Regions from separate parts of the Homo sapiens genome. Here region 1 is linked to region 2. Evidence: promoter capture Hi-C in human tissues and cell types (Jung and others, 2019). All regions are on one chromosome and are shown on one strand. Each heading gives the region's core, a stretch centred on a gene start or on the middle of the fragment in contact. The rest is flanking DNA. Distances are from core to core; before and after follow the strand shown. Region 1 overlaps SRP54 (signal recognition particle 54). Region 2 holds the start of SNX6 (sorting nexin 6).

Evidence for each region. Contacts are between HindIII fragments. The study calls those that stand out against the background at their distance.
Region 1: a fragment that was not itself captured here is called in contact with the fragment with the promoter of SNX6 in region 2 in 1 of the 25 tissues and cell types used here (aorta).

The regions. Positions count from the first base shown.
Region 1 is chr14:35,006,258-35,011,274 of GRCh38, forward strand. It overlaps SRP54 (signal recognition particle 54), which reads left to right. Exons shown (of 16, transcript NM_003136.4): 5 at 1,026-1,130; 6 at 2,370-2,436; 7 at 2,517-2,574. Among named protein-coding and RNA genes, the nearest start is that of SRP54, 26 kb to the left of the region's middle. The HindIII fragment of the contact is 7,325 bases long and covers 1-5,017 here.
Region 2 is chr14:34,628,567-34,632,980 of GRCh38, forward strand. It overlaps SNX6 (sorting nexin 6), which reads right to left and starts at 1,582. Exons shown (of 14, transcript NM_152233.4): 1 at 1,545-1,582; 2 at 1,341-1,388. The coding sequence starts at 1,550. RefSeq lists a silencer at 1,336-1,685 and an enhancer at 1,856-1,905. The HindIII fragment of the contact is 20,741 bases long and covers 1-4,414 here.

The sequences.
Region 1 (5,017 bases), core at 2,215-4,714, 380 kb after region 2:
AGTAAATATTTGGCATTGGAGAATTTACAGTTTGACCTGGAAAATCTTTCACATATAATCTGTAATTTTGTTAAGTAAATATTTGTCAAATTGAATATGGACATTAGCACTCTCGAGTATGGCATCCACTAGCCACATGTGGTTATTGAGCATTTGTAATGTGGCTAGTCCAAACTGAGATGTGTTTTACATATAAAATACACACCAGGTTTTCAGACTTGGTATGGGAAAAGAAATGTAAAATATCTCATTAATTTTTTATATAGATTACATATGAAAATGATAATTTTTTAGATGTATTGGGGTAGATACTAAAATTAGTATCACCTGTTTTTACTTTTTAAATGTCAGTACTGGAAATTTTAAAATTCATGTGTAGCCTTCATATACATTTTTGTATTACATTTCTGTAGTGCTGATGTAGATTCCTCCTGTGGCTTAAATTTGGTTTCACATTTTATACTCCAGCTTGTTCTAAAAAATGCTGTGAGATCTTTACCTCTGAATTGGTTTGGAGTATAGACTTGATTATGACTTCTTAAATTTATGTTCTTAAATTTTACTCTGTCTTTACAAAGGGGAATAATTGTATTATAATAGCTTATGGTAGCTTTTACATGAAAATGTCCTTATTTATATAATTTAAAAGTTGTGGCAGCACAGTGGCTCACGCCTGAAATCCCAGCACTTTGAGGCTGAGACAGAAGGATTGCTTGAACCCAGAAGTTGGAAACCAGCCTGGGCAACATGGCAAGACCCTGTCTCTACAAAAAAAAATTTTTTTAGTTAACTAGGTGTGGTGGCGTGTGCCTGTAGTCCCAGTTACTTGGGAGGCTGAAGTGGGAGCATCATTTGAGCCCAGGAGGTTGAGGCTGCAGTGAGCTCTGATTATGCCACTGCACTCCAGCCTGGGTGACAAGAGTGTGACCCTGTCTCAAAAAAGGAAAAAAAAGTTGTGGGGAAGGGGTTTTGAATTTATATGTATGTTAACCTGATTTTATTTTTAATTTATTTTTGGTATTTAGCTTGTAGACCCTGGAGTTAAGGCATGGACACCCACTAAAGGAAAACAAAATGTGATTATGTTTGTTGGATTGCAAGGGAGTGGTAAAACAACAACATGTTCAAAGGTAAATTGAACTTAATTTAAAAAGAAGTCATATGGAAGATAGGTTTGTATAAATCAAGTTTTGTATTTAATATAAAAATGTAAAGCCTGGCTTTATAATGTTGAAATATATATTTTATTAATTATAATTATTAGAATGCATTTATATATTATAAATAATGTTATTTTATATAAAATATATTTACATAAAATATATTTATATTATAATAAAATATATTTACATAAAATATATTTTATTAAAATATATTTATATTATAATAAAATATATTTACATAAAATAGATTTTATTAAAATATATTTACATAAAATAGATTTTATTAAAATATATTTACATAAAATAGATTTTATTAAAATATATTTACATAAAATAGATTTTATTAAAATATATTTACATTAAAATATATTAATAACATATTAAGATATAAAGCCAGGCTTTATAATATTGTTGCTTTATAATTTTGTGTTACTTGATGTATGTTTTTAAATAGTTTTTTTTAGGATAAGAGGAGAGGTCCTCATAGTTTCTTATGATTTTTTTTTTGTAAGAAGGTAGACATCTGTAACTATGCTATTTCTTTTATTAAAAAAAGACCATTCCTATCCTTTCAGGAAGTGAGTGTGTGATTTTTGGAGAAGAGAACATGGAGTTTACTTTATCCTCTATGGCTCAGGACTCCTTTTTCAGGTTCCCACCCAGCATACTATAGATCTTCATTTTGTGTATCCTTATGCCATATTTTTTTAGACAGAGTCTTACTTTTATTGCCCAAGCTTGAGTGCAGTGGCACGCAAACATAGCTTACTGTAGCCTTGACCGCTTTATGCTAATTTTTAATTCAGTTTACCACTCCTTTCTCCCAAATTGCATGTCTCAACAATATTACAAGATTTTTCCACAAGCTTCACGTATGTTACAGTTTGAGAGGGAAAAAGAGAAAAGGATGATTTTTAGATCGTTTTGTTGTTGTTTGTTTTTAATTAACATTAATAGTAGTTAACATTTTTTGCTATGATCATTTGCTACTTGATCATTTTATATTTGAATGCTACTGCATGACAATTAGAATATAAAACTTTGTAGGAAATTTGCCACATTCAAAAATCTTTAATAATATTTTCAGGAGAATTATAAGCAGTTTTATTTTACTCCTTAGGTAAATAATAAGGAAAAACAGAAAAAATTATATGTATAGTTTGTTATATTTTATGATATTATATTTTTAAATCTTTTCTCACCCAGCTAGCATATTATTACCAGAGGAAAGGTTGGAAGACCTGTTTAATATGTGCAGACACATTCAGAGCAGGTAATGTCTTGAAATTTGAAAATTGTTTTATATAATTTTTATTTTCAAGTTTGAGGATTCATGAACTCTTTATCTTCCAGGGGCTTTTGACCAACTAAAACAGAATGCTACCAAAGCAAGAATTCCATTTTATGGAAGGTAGGTTACTGTTTTTTATTTTAACACTTATATCCCTCTTCTTGTCTGTCAGCTTTTTTTTTTTTTTTTTTTTGAGACGGAGTCTCCCTCTGTCACCCAGGCTGGGGTGCAATGGTGCGATCTTGGCTCACTGCAACCACCACCTCCTGGGTTCAAGTGATTCTCCTGTCTCAGCTTCCTGAGTAACTGGGATTACAGGTGCCCACCACCATGCCCATCTAAATTTTTGTATTTTTAGTAGAGACAGGGTTTTACCATGTTGGCCAGGCTGGTCTCGAACTCCTGACCTCAGGTGATCCACCTGCCTCAGCCTCCCAAAGTGCTGGAATTACAGGCATGAGCCACCATGCCTGACCATGCCCTGCTAATTTTTTTAAAAACTTTTTGTAAAGACCCTGTCTTATAAAATATCCTTTGTTGCCCAGGCTGGTCCCAAGCTCCTGGGCTCAAATGATCCTCCCACCTCAGCCTCCCGAAGGGCTGGGATTACAGGCTTGAGCCACTGTATGCAGCCACACACATGTTCTTATTAAGTGTATTTCTATCTGAGTTTTTGGTGGTGGTTCTTAATTTAGGGGAAAAACTTTTTTTGTAACATTATGTGTCTTTATTTGATAATAGTGATCTGCATATAAAAAGTTGCCACTAATCAGAAGAGTGCAAATTAAAATATCTCATTTCTTGATTTTCAAGTTGACAAAGATTGTATTGGGGATTGTGAAAATGTAGTGAAATAGGGATGAGATTAAACTTTTATGGAAGAGATTTGCCTCATAAAAGCAAAAAGCCTTAAATGGTCATACCATTTGTTCCAAATTCAGCTTATAAGAGGTGTCATAACATAGTGTCAAAGAAGAAACATTTATGTACCAATTATATTGGCGGTATTTTTAATATCAGGAAATTGGAAACACTGCCATGCACAGTGGCTCATATCTGTAATCCCAGCACTTCGGGAGGCTGAGGTGGGAGGATTGCTTGAGCCCAGAAGTTGGACACCAGCCTGGGCAATATAGCAAGACCTCATCTCTACAAAAAATAAATTTAAAAAATTTTCAGGCTGGGCGCACCACGTTGGGAGGCTGAGGCGGGCGGATTATGAGGTCAGGAGTTCGAGACCAGCCTGGCCAACACAGTGAAACCCTGTCTCTACTAAAAATACAGAAATTAGCTGGGCGTGGTAGTGGGTGCCTGTAATCCTAGCTACTTGGGAGGCTGAGGCAGAAGAATCGCTTGAATCTGGGAGGCGAAGGTTGCATTGAGCCGAGATCGTGCCACTACCCTTCAGCCTGGGTGACAGAGCTAGACACCGTTTAAAAAAAAAAATTTTTTTAGGCCGGGCACAGTGGCTCACACCTGTAATCCCCGTACTTTGGGAGGCTTAGGCGGGTGGATCACCTGAGGTCGGGAGTTCAAGACCAGCCTGACCAACATGGAGAAAGCCCGTTTCTACTAAAAATACAAAATAACTGGACGTGGTGGCGTGTGCCTGTAATCCCAGCTACTCAGGAGGCTGAGGCAAGAGAATTGCTTGAACCCGGGAGGCAGAGGTTGCGGTGAGCTGAGATGGCATCATTGCACTCCACCATGGGCAACAAGAGCAAAACTGTGCCTCAAAATAAATAAATAAATAAATTTAAAAAAGAAATTGGAGGCCAGGCATGATGGCTCATGCATGTGATCCCAGCATTTTGGGAGGCCAAGGCGGGCATATCATGAGGTCAGAAGTTTGAGACCATCCTGACCAACATGGTGAAACCCCGTCTTTACTGAAAATACAAAAATTAGCCAGGCCTGGTGGCAGGCGCCTGTAATCCTAGCCACTTGGGAGGCTGAGGCACGAGAATCCCTTGAACCCAGGAGGCAGAAGTGGCAGTGAGCCGAGATCGCACCACTGCACTCCAGCCTGGGCAACAGAGTGAAACTTTGTCTCAAAAATAAATAAATAAATACATAAAAATTAAAAAAAAAATTGGAAAAACGTCAAATGTCTAATAGTAGGGCGTTATTTAATAAATGATACAGCCATCTGATAGAATGCTGTATAACCTCAAGGTTATGTGTTACAGAAATATTTTTTCTTTTTTCACCCGTGTTAATTTTTAAAGAGACATGCCATGGTCTTGCTCTGTTGCCCAAGTTGGAGTGCAGTTGCATGATCATAAGCTCACTGCAGTGTCGAACTCATGGACTCAAGTGGTCCTCCTGCCTCAGTCTCCCAAGTGGCTGGGACTATAGGCATATTCCACTATGCCAGCTAGTTTTTTTTTTTTGTAGAGATGGAATCTCACTATATTGCTCAGGCTTGTTACAAGAATATCTACTGGTTTTATAAAATGCTTCCAAATGGATGTTAAATGGAAAAATGTGTGAAACACTGTGAGCATGAGTTCAATTATTAAAGAAGATATAAAAAATAAATTTGAAGGAGACACAATTCATT
Region 2 (4,414 bases), core at 332-2,831:
TGCAGTGAGCTATAACCATGCCACTGCACTCCAGCCTGGGCAACAAAGGGAGATACTGTCTCATAAAACCAAATAAATAAATAAAAGTTTTATAAAAGTCATCAGTTCATACTAACTACCTCATCTGTTATTACAAACAGCAATAACATCCCACAATATTTTATCACCTACCAAATATGCACTAACAGATGTCTCTCTCACATTAAAACGGATAAGAAAAAGCAAAAGGGAAAACTGAAGTGCAGGCTGTGAAATGTGAAGGAACCATGGAACCTTGCTGAATGGTAATTATCATATATCAACATTTTCCAAGTGCTCACTTGTACAAGGGACTATAAAGATTACCACCCTTCAGCCAAGGAAAAAGGGGGTGGAGAGTGGGGTGGGAGGGAGGAATCAGAGCCCGGAAGGCTCTTTCTGAAGTAGAATGCAACTAACCTCAGAACACCAAGGGCAGAATGGAGGTTATCAAAGGCCTGGCGGAGTGTGTATGTGGGGGGTGAGTGGGTGGAGCGTCGATGTTGGTCAAAGGGTACATACTTGAAATTTGCTTAGATCTCAAATGTTCTCACACAAAAAAAAATGGTAACTAGGTGAGGTGATGGATATGTCAGGTTGATTTTGGTACTCATTTCACAATGTATTCGTGTATTAAAATATAATGTATACCTTAAGTATATACAATTATCAACAGTATTTGTCAATATACCTCAAAGAAGCTAAGGGGGAATAAAACACCAAGGAAATCCTGCCAAAGACAGGATTTGTTGGATATTAGAAAAAGTAAAGATACCATGGGCTACCTGCACTTTGCATAATCTAGTAGGGCACTGGACAGGAGTTGATTCGGCTACTATAAAAATCCTTGCAAAATGGTAATGTAGACTACACCTGTACTATTTGAGAGAGACAGAAGGGTGGGCGGGAGCAAGTTCGAGATGTCCACACCGGGTGAAAATTGAGGGTGCCGCTGGGAAGGTCCGAGAATGGGTTTTCATGGCCCCAAAGTGTCGAGGGAGGGTGGGGGCGTTCCATCTCCCGCCTCCATTTCCACTTCGCCACCTGCACCCCGCCCCGCGTGGGAGTGGAGGTCCACCAGAAGGCCCGAACAGCGGCGGGGGACAAGAAAGCGGCCGCGGGTCCCCGGGAATCGGAGCCGAGCGGCCCCTAGGGAGGAAGGGCTGCGGGAGGGTGGGGCGCGGTGCAGCGAGGAAACCGAAAGGAGGACTACGGGGAGGGAGTGCCGCGCGGCTGGGGACCCATCCCCGTACCACACCCGGGGACCCAGGATGGGGAAGGAGGGTCCAGGGTCCCGCGAGCGAAAGGAAGGCAGAACTTACTCCGCGGTCCTCTTCTGAGAGGAAGTCCGGGCCGTCGTCCAGGCCTTCCTGTGGGGTCGGCGGGCACGGCGCGCCGGGGAAAAGGATGAGATGGGGGAGACACAAAGGGAGACATTAGTGACAGGCTGGCGCGGTCCCCGCGCCCGCCCCGCGCCCGCTGCCCCCACCGCGCTCCCGGGACTCGGCGCCGCGGAGAACACCCACCATCATGGCTGCTCCGAGGCGAGGGCCGGCGCAGGCGCGCATCTCCCTGCTGCCGGAGGGAGCCGGCGGCCAGGAGCGGGGCGGGGCGGGGCGGAGGCGAAGGGGCGGGGCCTAAGGACGGCCCGCCCCGTCCCCGGCGCTGGTCGCTCGAGTCCGTGAGCGAGGAAGGTTAACAGGGCCTTCTGCCCAAGGTCAAGGCACCGAAGTCGGGAGAGCCTGAAGACCCAGACCTCATGGCTGGGGGCACCTCGCAGCTGGCGGGCTCTGACCAGGGAAGGGCCAAAGGCCACCCAGGGAGCTCTCCAGTTCCCCTGCCCCGAGGGCTCCAGCGAAAAACGATGCAGGCGCCCTCCGGAAGCCATAATACATCATCTGGTCTTTGTATTATGCCACACGATAATTAATCACAATTAATATCATTTTGCCTATGGAAGTTGCTGGAAACAAGGACCTTCACACAGTCGGTAATCAGGGACTATAATCAAGCTTTTACCGCTGGCGAGGTAATAACTACCTCAGAGTTTGGGGCACTAATGGTTGCGAACTATAAAAATGAGCTGTTTTCATTACAAAAATATTCCTTTCCTTTGTTAGAAGAAATTTCCCCACACCTACTCTAACTGTCCAGGTGGTTAGCATCACACGGGATCCACAGGCATTTCAAATAACGGGAGAAAATCATACTTAATCCTAGAATCTACACGTTCCTGAGCTTGCATTCAGTTAAGGAAAGGCATCTTCAGATGTTCAGACCAGAAACCCTTAACCCATTGAAATCCGTACTCTAGGGGCCGGGCGCTGTGGCTCACGTCTCTAATTCCAGCACTTTGGGAGGCCAAGGCGGGCGGATCACCTGAGGTCAGGAGTTTGAGACCATCCTGGCTAACATGGTGAAACCCCGTCTCTACTAAAAATACAAAAATTAGCCGGGCGTGGTGGCGCGTGCCTGTAATCTCAGCTACTTGGGAGGCTGAAGCAAAAGAATCGCTTGAACCTGGAAGGCAGAGGTTGCAGTGAGCCGAGATTGCACCACTGCACTCCAGCCTGGGCAACAGAGCAAGACTCTGTCTCAAAAAAAGAAAGAAATAAATCCTTATCTCCCTTACTCCTCATATCCAACCAAATCCTATGGCTTCTACAATTGATTGTCCTTCATACCTCTTTTTTTTTTTTTTTTGAGACAGAGTCTCGCTCTGTCGCCCAGGCTGGAGTGCAGTGGTGCGATCTCGGCTCACTGTAAGCTCCACCTCCAGGGTTCACGCCATTCTCCTGCCTCAGCCTCCCGAGTAGCTGGGACTACAGGTGTGTGCCACCACACCCGGCTAATTTTTTTGTATTTTTAGTAGGACAGGATTTCACCATGTTAGCCAGGAAGGTCTTGATCTCCTGACCTCATGATCCGCCCGCCTCGACCTCCCAAAGTGCTGGGATTACAGGTGTGAGCCACTGCGCCCAGCCCATACCTCTTTAATTAGTCCAATTTTTCCAGTTCTCACAGCAATTACCATCAACTCTCGTCTACACCTTTGCAATACTCTCCTGACTCCACTATTTTCCATCACTTTATCCTATTTTACACACTGCTGCCAGTTTTCCTCCTAAAACACAGATATTGATGATTATGCTACTACCCTGTTCAGTAATCTTTACAAGCCCCCATTACATAACGATTCAATTCCTCAGCCTACGATTTCAAGCCTTCTACATTTGAATCCCTCTCTACTCTGCCAGGCCCTCCATCCTATTTTATTGAAGTGAAGCTCTCAAAACAATATTAAACTTAACTGATATTTTGGCCGGACGCAGTGGCTCACACCTGTAATCCCAGCACTTTGGGAGGCCAAGGGGGGCAGATCATCTGAGGTCAGGAGTTCAAGACGAGCCTGGCCAACATGGTGAAACCTCATCTCTACTAAAAATACAAAAATTAGCTGGGTGAGGTGGTGCGCACCTGTAATCCCAGCTACTCGGGAGGCCAAGGCAGGAGAATTGCTTGAACTCGGGAGGCAGAGGTTGCAGTGAGCCAAGATCATGCCACCACACTCCAGCCTGGGTGACAGAGACTGCGTCTCAAAAAGAAAATAATAAATAAAAATTAAAAATTTAAAAAAACCACTTAACTGATATTTTCATAAGAACTTCTTGTAGCTTTCATTTTGTATGTAAGGAGAACTGAAGTATAGAGAGGTTAAGTTACTGCTCCAACAAAGGTTACTCTACGAAATGGGGGGCGGGGAAGGGACTTTATTTTTTGTCTTTTGTTTCTTGTTTCCCAGCGCATTGTGGTGACTACTAAAGTAGTCTTTTTCACTGGGAGTCATGAGGCATCATGTGGTGTCATTGTAGTGTGATGAAGTGTCGGGAGGAATGTTCCAGTAATTTGTTACCTACTAAAAGTGCCACTATTTCCTATTGGTTTGTTTTTAGATTAAAGGTAATGTCTGCAAAGCTCTTCCTAGGTGGAGAGAGAGGAGTGGAGCCACAATAAATGAGAGGGATTTACATACAACTGATAGGAAGGCCAAGTGCGTCCTTGTGGACAAAGGTTGAGAAGTGCCACAGAGAACCACCTGAAATGCCTCCTATCATTAACCAAGAGTTTTAAATTTCAGCATTTAAATAAAGTCCAGCCTGGGCGTGGTGACTCACCCCTGTAATCCTAGCACATTGGGAGGCTGAGGTGGGAAGACTGCTTGAGCCTAGGTGTTGAAGACCAGCCTGGGCAACATGGCAAAACCCTATCTCTACAAAAAATACAAAAATTAGCCGGGTATGGTGGCACACACCTGTGGTCCCTGCTACTTGGGAGGCTGAGGTGAGAGGATCACTTGATCCCAGGGAGGCTGAGGCTGCAGTGAGCCATATCGAAC